Regions from separate parts of the Homo sapiens genome. Here region 1 is linked to region 2. Evidence: promoter capture Hi-C in 16 types of primary human blood cells and fetal thymus (Javierre and others, 2016). All regions are on one chromosome and are shown on one strand. The core of a region is centred on a gene start or on the middle of the fragment in contact, and the rest is flanking DNA. Distances in the headings are between cores, read along the strand shown. Region 1 overlaps ZFAT (zinc finger and AT-hook domain containing). Region 2 holds the start of NDRG1 (N-myc downstream regulated 1).

Region 1 (7,663 bases), core at 1,611-4,110, 1.4 Mb after region 2:
AAATTAGGTAGGAAAGCAGGTTGTATGTGTGCGCATCTACATATGAACATACTAACCACAGGCCACAGAAGCACGTGTGGAGAAGGCAGAGATCCCTGTGGCTGGAGCACCTGGAAGAGGTTTGTCAGAAAAGGGGAAGTTGAACTGCTCCAGGAGGTGGCCAGACAGCTGGAGGAAGGAAAGGAGAAGGGAGTGGAAGCCACACAGCCAGTGGGGGCAGAACCAAGAGCCTTGCCTGTTGGAAGAGCCTTGAGTGTGGAAAGAGGACAGGTTAAAGGCAGGGCAGGCACACTGAGAGCTGTGGCGGCTCCACCAAGAGCCCCCCGCCACAGACCGGTACCTGGACAGGAAATGGATGCAAGAAGCTCCTGCCCCGCAAGCAGGAGGCCCATCCTGGAGGTCTGGAGACAGGGGGTGGGGCACTTAGAAAGCCTGCTCTGTCTGATGGGGTAGCTGCCTCCCAGGTCTAGTCAATGGAGGCCCAAATATTGAATTTGTAGTTGGAATCCCCTGATTTTTAAGCACTGGCCATCAAATAAGATTTTTCTGGGAAAGAAAAAAAAGAAAAGAAAAAAACCTCTGCAGCCCCTGCAGACCAAACTAAGCAAATCTGCAGGTTAGGTCTGGCCTACGGGTTGCCAATTTGCAACTTCTGATAAAAAGCTTTCCACTTGGGTGACTAGGGGAAAGCTGTTAACTTACAGGGGAAAAGCCAAGGAAACTGGTCTGAAAAAAACAGAGACACACAGACCACGAGAAAGAGAGAGTACAGGGACATTGAAAGGGACAGAGGAGACGACCCAGCACCTTCTGCCCATCCACCCAGCTCCCTAACACCCCATACCAGTGCCTGGCTTGGGTAAGTGGATGACAATTAGTGTGATTTTTCCAGTTTGGAGATTTTCTCTGAGTTTTTCACATCTTACACAACAGGAATTACATGTGTAATCCAAGAAAAATTAAATTTAAAAAAACACTTACATGGGTGTTAGAAATAAAGCGATAGCAAGTGACAAAATAATAAGATCTCCATCTTACAGGAGGAAGACTTACTGATCCCCAGACAGCTTGGGCCTCAGACACGTCAACTTGTCTTGGTCAGGACCAAACACTCATTCAAGACCGAGATCAAGGCCAGGGCTGCCCACACCATAGGGACACGCCAGCTCTAGACACAGCTGCTGGGTTCCTGGTATTTCTCCTTGACGTTGATTAGATGTTTGACTGGACAGGGTAGGGATATGTCTTACACTTCTCCCTTCCTTTATGTAATAAAGGTATGTTTGATTGATAAAATGACCCAAAAAATAAAAGAAGACAGGAAACTAGTTTAACCAGTAGCAAGATAGATTTAGATTACGTGGGGAAAAGGCATTCTTGGCACAAAAGTTTCATTCATTGCAACGAGAAACTTGGTAAGTGTGGCAGGTGTGGGCAGCCTAACCTCAAAGTGCCAGATTCCAGAACTGCAAATGTGGGGGCTGGGTGCGAGGAGTGCCCAGGTGAGCAGACAGCCCACCAGGATTAGAGGAGGCCAGCCAGGAAAAGGCACAGGAGCTCCCAGAGCTGGTGTTCTAGGAGTTTCCACGTGTCAGCCATGGGAAGGAGAGGAAGACATCAAGACTTCATGGCACAAAGTGGCACCCCCACCCTCCCCTGCCCCAGCCACTAGCTGCAAGGAGGTGTTTACGCTGCCTCCTGTTGGTCACACAGACGTTCCTATTAGTGACCACACTGGACCCTCCCTGCTGTCCTGTGAAACAGCCCAGTACATGGTGTCATCCCCATCACCACCACCACCGTCACCATCCCCTTTTTACAGAGGAGAAACCTGGGGCTCAGGTTAGTGAGCTGCCAAAGAGCCCCCAGTCAGATAAATTAAAAAGCCAGAACTTAACCAAGACCCACCAAGTCGACCACCACATCTGCCCACCCACCTGGTACCTAGCCCTGCTACAGGAAATCGCTTGTTATTTCCTGTAATGCTCACAGTGAGCAATACTGTGAGGAATGCAAGTCTTGGTCTCCCCAGCCCACAGCCAGCGTCATGGTTAGAGGGACATTTCAAATGATTAATTACAACTAAGAAAAGTAGCTACGTGGAGAAGGGGACTCTGCTGTGTTTGTTATAATTTACTACAGCAATTCATTTCGGGGAGCAACAGCTGGAAAATAACAGTATGCCAGATATAAGTGATACCAACCCACCCCAAACCACATACTTAATGAGCATGCCCACTGCACAGGTTGGCAGCAGGTCCAGAACCAGGGAACAGCAGACCACCAGGTAAGAGGCAGACAGTCTTTTAGCAAAACAACACCGGGAGTTACTGTCAAGCAGAAAGCACAGACCTTCATCAACGGGAGGGCGACATATACGTGCTAACATCACCCTCCAGTGGCCCACCAGGGCACTACATCTGACTAGGCCATAATTTTAAAAAACATGGCTAGTATTTACTGATTGCCTAACTCTTGGCTGGTGCCTTCCCCGTCACCCCACTTAACCTTCACATTAACCCAGTAAGTGAGGGGCTGCTGTTCCCATCTTAAGACGAGTTAAGTGGGCCAGGTAGGGGATTACAAGGTGATACAGCAGGTGGGCACACAGCAGGGCTACAACCCAAACACACATCCTTGGCCCAGGACCAGACCCCGCTGCCCTTCCTAGGTGGAGTCACTGCTGCTGCTGGTCCCCAGAGGGGGTGCAGCTGCCCTGACAGCTCAGGTGCCCTGGCCAGCCCCAGCAGGTAACTCAGACCAACTCTGACCACAGATTGGCCGCCACCTGGCCAATTCTCAACCTGAGTAAGTTATTTTCAACTCTTATGGGGCTTTCCCGTGTATGCCCACATTTCTATGTGACAGAAATGACACGGAGAGGAATAAGCCTAACCCAGGGTCCAGGTGGCATGCTTCCACTGACATGGCTACAAGGAAGGCACAACCACCCTGCCCTGAGTCCTGGTTATCCTGGGTTGGGGGCTGGGACCAGAGACTTCTGGGGTGCAGGGGAGTTCTGCTTCCAGATGTGATACTGGTTACTCACTGGTTATGCAGTGAGTTCAGTTTGCGAACATTCACTAAGCTGTTTATCCTATGCATATTTCTCTACATGTATGTTACACGTTAATCTAAGAAAATGTGAACAGCAAATTTTAAAGGAAAAGATATAGGGAAAAAAAACGATATTCTGATTCACAAGTGAACCTCTCATTTAAAACAACATAGATCGGAACACTATTTTGGCCCTCGTAGCTGTGTGACCCTGCGCACACACACTTGGCCTCTCTGAGCTTCAGTTTCCTTCTGCACAGGGCTGCAGAGAGGACGGCAGGACATCACGAAGACGATGTGCCTAGCTTAGTGCCTGGCCCCTCAGAGGCACCATTCTACATGAAGCATCATGAGGGGTACCCACCTTGTCAGAAGCCCAGGCCTCCCAGCTCCTAAGTGGCTCTCACACTTCCAATGGATGGATTCTGCATACGTCTCTGAATTTCTTTATCCCTCATTGTCTCTTCTGAAAGAAGAGCAGCCCAAATTAATAGTGGCCTTGGAGTGTTTGAAAGTGGAACCTAGTCTTCAAGCCCTATGCAGAGGCTAACGTGCAGAGAGACAGAGACAGCATCTTCAACCAAAGCAAGGGTGTGGGGCAGACCCACCAGCACCCACCTCCCCTCCACCCTGCAGGGACACAATATGAACCAACCCTCCTGCCTCCTGCTGCTCCCCTGCCCATAAATCATCTCCAAGGTGCCTCCCTTCCAGCTCTGATGCTCAGTGGGCTGAAGCTCCAATAAATGCACACCACTAATTTGTGAAATGATTATCATGCATCTCATAAAATGCTGATGAACATGCCAACTCCCATAGCTCACACAGTTAACGTGTTTATTAAAGGCAAGAGAGAAATCCCGTGGGTGTTTCTTTGCTGAAGCTGGATTAACAAAATAAAATGAGAAATACTCAGCATCAGCTATAATTAGGGCTGGGCCAACAGTTGCATTATAATTTTATGCATACACATCTCTTCCATGTTGAAACTTGGCATAAATTCTTTTAAGTTATTTTTAAGCACTCTCAAAATGAGAGCCCCTGGGCAATGGAATACATTCACATTTAACACAATAATCATAGCTTTAAAATGTGGCCCTCAGGAAAGCACCACAAATCATTTTACATAAACAGGAACAGCCCCCCACCCCGAGAGCAGATGTGTGGGAAGCGCTGAGGGTACAGGAACACCCCCTGTCCCGCTGCAGACCCTGGACACGACAGCTCCCCATTTGCAAACTGACGAGGTGGCCCTGAAGAGCCGCCTACCCACAGCTCTCAAGTGATGCCTCTAAGTAACCAAGTCTCTGTGGTCATTTCCACATCAAAAGTAAAAGGAGCAAAATCCTCTCCCATTTTCTAGAGTACTGGGGAGAAATAGCAATGCCCATCACCACCGCACATCCGGGTTGACAGCTGTTGGTCTGCGTTGCTTTAGTGTATTTCTGTTCCTCCGTGGGGCAGGCCTGCCTCTCGTCTTGTTTCTGAAGTAAAGGGCTGCCTGAAAGCCAGCCTCAGCGCTGAGCTCGGCTCAGAAGCCCTGGTTCAAACCCCATGGCATCAGCCACTTCAGTGTGACTGGAGCCACCTTTCCCTTCCTGAATCTGTAGGGACTCAGCTCAAAAATGGAGATAACCACAGCTGCCCTGGTAAGATTGATGGGCGGTGGGGGGGATCTTGTGGTGGGGGTGTTATGTAGGGGAATACTGGGAAAAAAGGGCTTTGTAGACTGCTAAAGATGGTGTCGATGCTGAAGAGAACAGAGAATTTTTTAAATCCAGAAACGTTCAGCCAGACAGCTAAAGCTACCTACTGGGTCCCTAGTTGCTTCTGCTGTCCTTTAACACACATCTATACAAATACACATACACACACATAAAACATATACATGCGCACACATGCACCCGCAAAACGTGTGTACATACACAAATGCACATACAGCACACATGCGCACACAAACATACACTTTCTTCAGGGAAACCAAAGACACAGGCAATTCAGAAGCTTTTTGAGAGACAATATAAACAACACAGCAACAATAATGACAGAAAGTGGAAATCAGGGATCCAAATCCCAAGAACTGAGAAAAGAAAGAGCCACGAGAAAGGGGAGAAGGAAGGTGGAGGAAACAAAAGGAAGAAAAGGAGCCAGGACTTGGGTTTCCAGAGTTTGAGCCACAGCAGGTGCTTGGAGGAGCTGTCAGGAGCCCTGGGAGGGAGCAGGGAATTGTCACCCAGTTCCAGCTCTGGAAAGACAACACTCGTTCAGGGTCCCACACATGCCACCTTCGACTTCCACCCTCTCCCTCAGGGGCCTCAAATTCTACCCGCATTTTCTATCCCATCGCATCCTCAACCCATCAAGAGAAGGAAGAGACCAAATAAGAGCTTGCTGCAGCCTCAGGGAACCGAGAGCTGCAGGAGGTGGGATTCAACCCATTTGTTCATGAGACGTGTCCAGCCATGGTTTCCCCACTCTGCTTCCTGGGGTTTTCAAAATGCAGGAGTTTATTCCAGTGAAGCACCAAGCACAGTGCCTGGCACACAGCAGATGAAGGTGCTGCCTGCCCTTTTCCCTGTTTCTGCAGTTTACTAACATCACACTGAGGTAGAAGGCAGGCAGGATTCAACTCCAGACCTGACTGAAGACTGGCCAGAACTGGGAAGAGGGGCCTAAAGCACCCCTCACTGCCCATCACCATAATACACGCCCACCAGAGCGTAACAGTTTACCACTGCAATGGCAACACCCAAAAGTTACTGCCTTGCCATGGCAATGCCGGAAGTTACCACCCACTTTCTAGCTATTTCTGAATAATCTGCCCCTTAATTAGCACGTCATTGAAAGTGGGTATAAATTTGGCCGCAAAGCACTGCTACTCTTGGCGCTCTGCCTACGGGGTAGCCCTGCTCCACAGGAGCGGTAACACTGTCACTGCCTCAATAAAGCTGTTTTCTACTACCACCGGCAGCTCATTCTTGAATTCCCTCCTGAGCGAAGCCAAGAACCTGCCCTGCATCAACACCATGGTGGGTGAGAATTCCTGCCAGACAAAACCCAAGTCCTTAGAAATGCTGACTCTACCCAGCCTCCTTCCCCTAATTCAGGGATGTTTTAATTCAACAAAGATGTGATTCGCATACTACGATAGAGAGCAGAGGGAGCCATGAAAGAGAAAAACAAGTAGCATTTCCAGCAGTCAAGGTATTCAATCTACCAGGTGAAACAGGCTTGAAAACAATATAGAAGGCCGAATTCAGTCAACAGCTACTTTTTTCTTAAAAGGTACTAGGCACTATTCCTGGAGATGGCCCCCACCAGGGACGCCTCCTAGACTGGAGGACACGGACAGATGCGTGACTCTGCACAAGGACACACACTCCAGCCCAGGCCTGTGAAAGCACGGGGCAAGAGGCTGGATGCTTTGTCCAGGCCACTGCTGTCCAACAGATACACAGCATGGCCACTGATGTCATTTAAAATTTTCCAGTAGCCATATTAAAATAAAATAATCAAGAAAAAATAATTTTAATGATGTTTTCTTTAACCCAGTATATCCAAAATAGAATCATTTCACTTACAATCTATTTTCAAAGATCAATGAGAAATTTTAAATTTTGTGTACTAAGTCTTCAACAGCCAGTGTGTTATTTTTCACCTACAGCACATCAAAGTTTGGACTAGGCATGAACCCAGTATTCACATTATTTCCAGAATACCAGGCAACTTTTCCCTGCAGACGAGAGAAATGTAATACACAGGTTCTACTCCCTGACCTCCAGCGGGGTAGGAGAAGGCTTCCACCACCCCCAAACTCTTTGAGATTCAAGAGTTAGGAAAATCGAGACAAAGAATTAGCAGACTTAGAACCTGCAGACCAAGTCCCTGTCCGCACTGTTACAGGAGAGGCAGATGACGGACGAATATTTTCATTTATTATTGTCACAGGTTTAAAAGCTGACTGTGTGCTCAGGGATCCTGAGGTCTTGATCAAGGAGATAAAATAACAGGCTGGGCAGGAACTGGAGGCAGATGTGGAAAACATACAACTTCAATTCCAAATGTCCGCTTTATGAAAGTCTGAGATTGGCCTCAGTTATATTGGGCTCAGTTATATAAAATGTTCTGATTTTCAAATTAAATCCTGAAGAATGAACTTCCCCCTAGTATTTACATGTGTCTAGGGTCTTTCCAAATTCCAGAGTAGAGCTTTAAATTTAAGGAAGGAGAGACACTGGGAAAAGAAGAATTCTCCAAACCATCCCCTCAACCCATCCCCAGCCTACCAAAATGATCTGGCCCATTTTTCCTGGTAACCAAAATACAAAATAAATATTTAATGTATTCTCCAAATATCTGGGCTGTTCAGTTTTTATTAGGAGAAAAAAGCAGAATTCTTTGAATTTATGTGCATTGGCCTCATAATTCAACACTAAATGAATGCCTGACATCTGTCACTCACCATGCTAGGTGCAATCAGAAATGAGGAAGACACAGACTCTCCCCACCAGGAACATAAATAAGCAATTCCATTTTGTTCATGAGAATAATTTTACATGACTGTGGTGTTATTTATAATCTAGTTTTGTAGACTCTTGCTGTTGGA
Region 2 (6,741 bases), core at 3,548-6,047:
CATGGGAGACATGGACAGGTCCCAGGAAGGACCCAACCCAGCCTCCCCTCCAGCAGAGGACAGCCAAGGAGGCCTTTCTGGAGAAAGGAGGAGAGTTCCATGATTAAAAAGGAGGAAGGAGAGATGGTAAGCATTCCCAGCTGAGAGAGGCCATAGACCCACCTCTTAAATGGCCCTCTCACATCCATATTTGAAGAGGGTTACTTGGAATCTTCTTAGGTTCCGTGGGGGTGGGGCAGAGGGTGAAGGCAGGAGAACAAGGTGGAGACCTGGGCCCCCACCCACCTCTCTTCAAACAGAACTCTATGCAGATTTAAAATGTATAGCTGCAGAAAGTCTCCCCACAGATTTAAAGAAAGGAAAGATTAAACTGCTGGGGAGGGCACTCAAGGCCCCCAGACTGTTAAGGAGCCTCACTTTCTACCAGCTCAGTTGCAAGAAAACCCGCTGGACTCAAAAGGTCAGAGATGGAGCCCAGGCAGGTAGGGCATAGGCAGGTCTGCAAACAATGTTAGGTGGGAAAGTCAAAGATCTGGGTCAAAGAGACCTGCTTATGGCCCCGATTGTGTAATCCATTCCCATTCTGTAGTGCTGGGGCTTACGCCCCACCCGAGGGAGCCCAGGTTTCTTTTCACATGGCCCCCACCCCGAGAACACGGCTCCAGGTTGGCACCTACTCATGGCCCTCTACCTCTGCAGCCGCCTTCCTGTGGGGCCTCAGTGTCCCCAGCCCTTCTGCCTACCTGCCTGGGCTAAGTTCTCAGCCAAGACCGCTATCTAGCCTGCCTCTATCTCCAAGTTGAAAGATAAAAAGCAAGTGGACACGCGGTACTTCCATCACACAGCCATCAAGGGAGGCAGGAACAACAGCCTGGGGTGGATCCAGGAAACAAGCTCCTTCTCAAAAGGTGGGCCCAGAGGGTGTGGGTGGCCTCCAAGCGCAATGTTGGAGGGTGGAAAGGGCTCAGGAGGCTCACCTTGGGCAGAACCCCACTCACTGGACTCTGGACAGAAGAGTCACCAGCCTGAGCCTCAATTTTCTGACCTGAGAGGTGGAAAGAATGTCTTCTACCTCAGTTAGCTGATGTGATGCATTGAACCTCCAAGGCACTATAGCAAACAAGAGCTATTTACTGAGCACTCACTAATTCCCTGGCACTGTGGACACAGGGTGGCCTGAAGGTACAGCGGCATGTATGACTACACCTTCCTTCTTCTCTCCCCTGTCATTCCAGAGCAGAGGTTCTCAACTCTGTCTGCCTGCAGGATACCCCATTCCCAACCCAGCCAAAGGAGCTTTGAAACAACAGCATATCCCCTGATGGAGAGAGAATCGCAGGAGACCGGGCCTGGAAATGTGCATTTCAGACAAGATTTTCATGACACTATTATGCAACCTACATAAGCTTAGCAAAAAGCAATACCTAGGTCAAGCATTTGCAGGCACTTTCACAGCCTTGGGTAGGTTTAGGACAAAGGGTCCCAGACTCTGCCTGCCAAGAAGATGCCTTGAGAATGTCTTCTGCGGGTGCTACTGACGGCAAACACCTACACGCTGTTTTCCACATGCTCAGTGCTGTTCTCAGGTTACACAGATTAATATTTACACATTCTGATGGCATCATGTCTGTTACTCTCATTTTACAGAAAAGCAAACTGAGGCATGGAGCTCCTGACTGCCTTTTCATTTGAGCCTGATTTCTTCAGGCGCCCCAACATGTTGTCATGGAAAAAAAACAAAGGCTCTGAAGTCCAACTGTCCGGGTTCAAAGTCTGGCTCTCCCACCTGAGCCATATGGCAACAGGCAAATCCTGAAACTCTCCTGGCCTCAGTTGCCTCATCCATTCAATGGAGCAATACGATCCAGGCAACGTTCTTGCGAGGATGAAGGCAGATGGAGGGAGACAGTGGCTGCTCTGGAGGGAGAGAGATGTCGTGTCCCTCCCTGGCCTTCCTTCCAGGCTGAGTCAAACCTGAACCCTGCTTGAGTCTCAGATGCTGAGTCATCACGCTTTCTCTCCCAGGACAAGGCCTCTGAGTCACATCTGGAATGGGATTCTCTGGGGTTGGGTCCCAAGGAAGAACTGCAGCTTTGGGCCACCCGAAAAACACAATGCTATCTTTCTTTCAGGTCCATGAGGAGGCAAGTTCAGGCCAGCGGATTTCAACGTAACCCAGGGGGGCCCTCAGCTCAGTTGAGATCTGTCTTCTGTCATGGGGGGGGGGCAGCCCCATTCAGTCAAAGGCCAACTCAGGGGGCTGCAGCCTCTAAGCCCCTGCCCTTCAGGCTGGCTTTGCTAATCTCTCAAGAACACCTGATTTACACTTAAAAAAAATCATTCCGCTCTGCCCCTTTGGCCTCAAAAGTTTCCTCACCAGAAATTCAATGAAGATGCAATTTCCTTTCGCCCCTCCATAGCAGGCAGGCAAAATCCTGCCAGGAACCCTTTCCACTGCCTTCAGTCCCACCCAGGAGCCTCTCACAAAGCTGAGCTCCAGCTCAGTTCGGCCTGGGCACATCCCTCCCCATCCCTGTGCCTCATTTTCCATCTGTAAAATGGAAAGAAGTTGGACTAGGTAGGTCCTGTGTGAGTTTTTTATTCCATTCCAAATGATCAAACTTTGTTGCTCCAAAAGAACTTCCTCACAAGAGACCCAAACAGACACTCCAGGATCCCTCAAAAGCAAAAGCCAACACCTCCACCCATGCACAGTCTATTACCTCGCCCGAAACTCAACCTGCTGGTTCACAGGAGAATGGGGCAGAAGACCCAGAGCCATCCACTTCATCCCATGTGCATATTTCAACTCCTCCCACCTGCCAGGCGCTGGGCCAGGGGCCAGGTTACAGGGCAGGGCAGGCAAATCCTCCTCCTTGCCCAGATGCAGTGGGAGACACGGTCCCACAAAGCTAAGAAGTCACAGGTCAGGGGAACACCCAGTTTTCCATCCACACCAAAACCCTCTCTCTCCCTTACACCTTCCTTCATCCCCGACACTGTGCCACCCCAGCCTGGGGCTGGCTCTGCCGCCACACACACCACACAGAACCGGTCTGCGTCTCCAGCCGTGTGTCTTCCCCACCAGAAGGCAGCCCTTCCAAGAAAGGCGCTGGGGTTTGCCCCCTCTGTACCTTGCTTATTTCAATCACATTTGTGAAACTCAATAAGAACGCCAGAATTTCTCAACAGGAAGAGTCTAGACTGAAAAATTCGCCTTGAAACTACATTTCTGCAGCAAGAACAGGGGGTTTGTATTTAGATATGTTCTTTTGAGGCAGCTTAGGAGAAGGTCCCGTGCAGCTGATGGGTATTATAAGGATGTCTACCGCCCTCCTGCCTGGCCACTGGCTGACTTCTGAATATTAGATATTTCCCAGTAGCTTAAAGAAACCAAACAAACTGAAGTGCCCCCAGCGTCCGTGAGGAAGGGGTGTTCTTGGATGGGCATAAGATAACCAAGGGCCCTGCCTCCCCCACCCACTGCCAGGCATCTCCCACTTCCAAGCCACAGAGGCGTGCTGTTCAGGACCCCCAGGGACAGCAGGGACAACAGGCGGGGGATATGGGGGAGGGGTGGGTAAGGAACCGACCCACTAAATCCCAGCTCCAGCTACTAATTTGACAGAGGCGTGACAGCGTGTTTCCCCCAGAACCAGCCGCATTCCCCAAGCCCAGCCCGAAATCTCCTCCCGAGGCTGAATCAGAGACCGCGGCGGATCCCCCAGGAACGTCGAAGTAATTCCAGCTGTTTTCCCCCGTGGAGGGCAGGAGCGGCCAGCACCAGAGGCAGGGGAGGGGAGGAAAGCGGGGGAGGGTGGGCGGAGGCGAAAATGACGCCACTCCTAGCTCCAGCCAGCTCAAGGGGCCGCCAAATGTCCGCGAGACCCCTCTCGCCCAGGTCACTTCTCCCACGCCGCCGATGCGCCAATCCCGGGTTCCTCCGGGGGCGCACCCTGCCCAGTGGCGCTCGCAGACACTTGCTCCGGCTCGCGTGTTGCACTGTGACACACCCTGGACCCTCCCCCCACACACACGCTTACACTCACACATGCACACCGCCCTGTGTGTGCTACGGGACTGAAGCGCCACCAGCCTCTCGGATCCACACCCGTTCCCGACCCAGTCTGCAAGCCAGACACACCCACGCCCCCCTCTCCAGCCTCCTTGCCAGCGCCACTCACCTCTACCAACCCCTCATCTACACACTCGCGCGCAATCTCTCCGTTCCCAGACACAGACACACACACACACACACACACACACACACACACACACTCACCTAGTCCCTTCTGCACCCACGTCCAGCGCGCACCCCTGCCAGCGGCGCCAGCTGGGATTCGGAGACGACGCCAGGAAACGCTATCCTGGTATTTTTTCGGACCGTCTCATCGCCCCCTTCCCGACCTCCAGAACCCCAATCCCCAGCTAGGGGGGAGATGAATGGGACCCTGTCTTTTTTTCCTCCCTTTCCGTAATTGAACCCCCCACTTCAGCGGTGTCTGCACCCAAAGCCCCCTCGCGCCCGCGCCCCGGGGTGACCGCGCACTTGCAGCTCCGGGGCGCTTACTCCTGGAGTACGCGGGGCTACAAAGGGCGGTCCTGGCGCTCCAGCGGCACCGCACGGGCGGCCCCTTTCTGCTCCGCGTCGCGCCTGGGAGAAGAGGGCGCGGGCTTACCTAACGCGAGGGAGAAAGGAAAGGACGGTGCCGAGGCTGGCGGCCCAGCGCCCCGCGGAAGCCGAGGGCGGATGGTGAACTGACGAGCTTCAGCACCAGCTGGGAGCCAGGCGAGGTTTGTTTACGTCCGGGCGGAGGGCGACTTTATAGGCGCCGCGGCCCCGCCCCCGCGCCTCGCCCCTCCCAGACCCTCGCAGTCCCAGCACGCAGCCGGGACACACCCCTTCCCCGCTCCCTGCTCCCTCCTCCCGGGCGCGCCGGGCTGGGCTGGGCTCCGGCAGCGCGCGGCGGGCGCCCACTGGAGCCGCCGCCTGTTGCGCAAGCAGTCGTAGGGGCGCGGCCGGGAGGGGCATCGGGGCCCGGGTTGTGGGTCGGCTCTGCAGTCCCCTCCGAGTCCAGGGCCTCGGCCTGTGCAGCGGGCGCGTGTGCCCTGCCCGGAGGAGGCGTTTGTGTGCTTGTGCGTGTTCATGTGCGCGCTCGTGCGTGTGCATGTGGACTTCCTTGTGTCTCCGTATGGGCGGAGGCCCCCCATCTCTGCCTCAGAGTTTCTTCTAAGAGTCTCGTTGCGCCACGCCCTGAGCGACTCCCTTCACTTCCTGTAGGTCTCACCAGCTCGGCTCTCCAGCCGGATTCGGCTGCCTGCCCAGCAGCCGCCTTCGCTTTCGCCCGACAGGCTCCCTCCGATTCTCAGCCTTCCGTGTCGCCAAAGCTCTCGCTGAAATCCTCGCTCCCGTTTAATCTCGTCCATCTTGCCCACCGCCGCCCAGCGCTTACCCTTCCCCTCATCTTCCCAGTTCTAAGCACACTCACTGGACCTTGCCCACTGGGCTCTTCTCTCCTGCCCCACAAGCCCAGATGAGAGGATTCTCACCCCTTCCTATTCTGATTTCCTGAACTTTCATGACTCACCCTTTCCAACCTTAGCACCGTCCTGCTCTGCTGCTCTGTTTGTGCGTAACTATTGGCCTGCATGTTCCCATCTGGCCAAAGAAACCAGCAATTCTCAACCCCTACTGCATATGAGAAGTCCCAGAGGAGCCGCCAAATTAAAAAATAAATAAATAGATAGATAATAAAAAGAGAGAGATGGACTCCAGAACAGTTTAATCAGAATCTCAGGGGGTGCAAACCAACTGGGCATTGGGGTTTTTACAAAGCTACCCAGGTGGCTCCTGACGTGCAGCCAGGTTGAGAAGCACTGCATGGAGGAACATGATTTTATGAATAAAGGAAGTCTGACTCACAGCTGGCACCGTCATTGTCCTCAGGCCACCTGCCCAGCGTTGAATTTGCCACTGAGCCCAGGACCAGACCCAGGGCAAGCTCAGGTGACCCTCCCTGCGCCTCCACAGACACACACGCGCGCACGCACAACACTTCCTGCTGAATTGTAAACCTCTTTTCTGTGCCAACCCATGCTGTCCCCAAGGCAGGGGCCATGGCTTTCCCCTCTGATTATTAGGGCCAGTTTTGGAGAAGGGTTTTCTGGAACAAAAGAAATATGGAGAGGGGCAAACAGCACCTCTAGGACCCAGGACATCTGTGTTTCAGGCCTGTCTTTGACACTATCGATCACAAATCAACAAATCTGGGCTTCAGAATTCTCACTGGCAAAGGGAGAGGATTAGATTCAATGATCTTTCAGAACCTATCTAGTGCTAAAGCTCTGTTATTCTATTACAAATGACCAGTGTGAAGAACAGAGTTCCAGTGTCATGGGTTTTGCTGCTAGAAGAGTTTGGCTAAACTACAAAGTTTGGCTATTAGCTATGAAGTTTGGCTAAACTACAAAGTTTGGCTACATTCAAGAATGCCTTGAATGTAGGAGCACATTCCCCCACCCTAGAAAATTTAACATCTAGAATTAATAAGTGAATGAATGACCACTGGGCAGTCTTCCATTCTTTATGGATTTGAACTAGTTCAACTGCAGCATTCCCAGTGAGGGAAAATTTTTCTTATTTCAAATAAAATGTTGTGTCCAGGTAGAGTGGCTTACACCTGTAATCCCAGCACTTTGGGAGGCCAATGCAGAAGCCTCTCTTGAGTCCAGGAGTTTGAG

What was found. Contacts are between HindIII fragments. The CHiCAGO score rates a contact against its expected background, and 5 or more counts as called.
Region 1: a contact is called between a fragment that was not itself captured here and the fragment with the promoter of NDRG1 in region 2, in 1 of 17 cell types (fetal thymus). The highest score is 5.7, in fetal thymus.

Annotation. Positions count from the first base shown.
Region 1 is chr8:134,683,372-134,691,034 of GRCh38, forward strand. The region is part of intron 1 of ZFAT (zinc finger and AT-hook domain containing); the gene reads right to left. Among named protein-coding and RNA genes, the nearest start is that of ZFAT, 26 kb to the right of the region's middle. RefSeq lists enhancers at 344-433, 2,193-2,694, 2,695-3,194 and a silencer at 3,274-3,440. The HindIII fragment of the contact is 4,398 bases long and covers 662-5,059 here.
Region 2 is chr8:133,292,455-133,299,195 of GRCh38, forward strand. NDRG1 (N-myc downstream regulated 1) reads right to left here and starts at 4,798. Exons shown (of 16, transcript NM_006096.4): 1 at 4,680-4,798. RefSeq lists an enhancer at 1,283-2,482 and a silencer at 4,679-5,128. The HindIII fragment of the contact is 9,218 bases long and covers 1,405-6,741 here.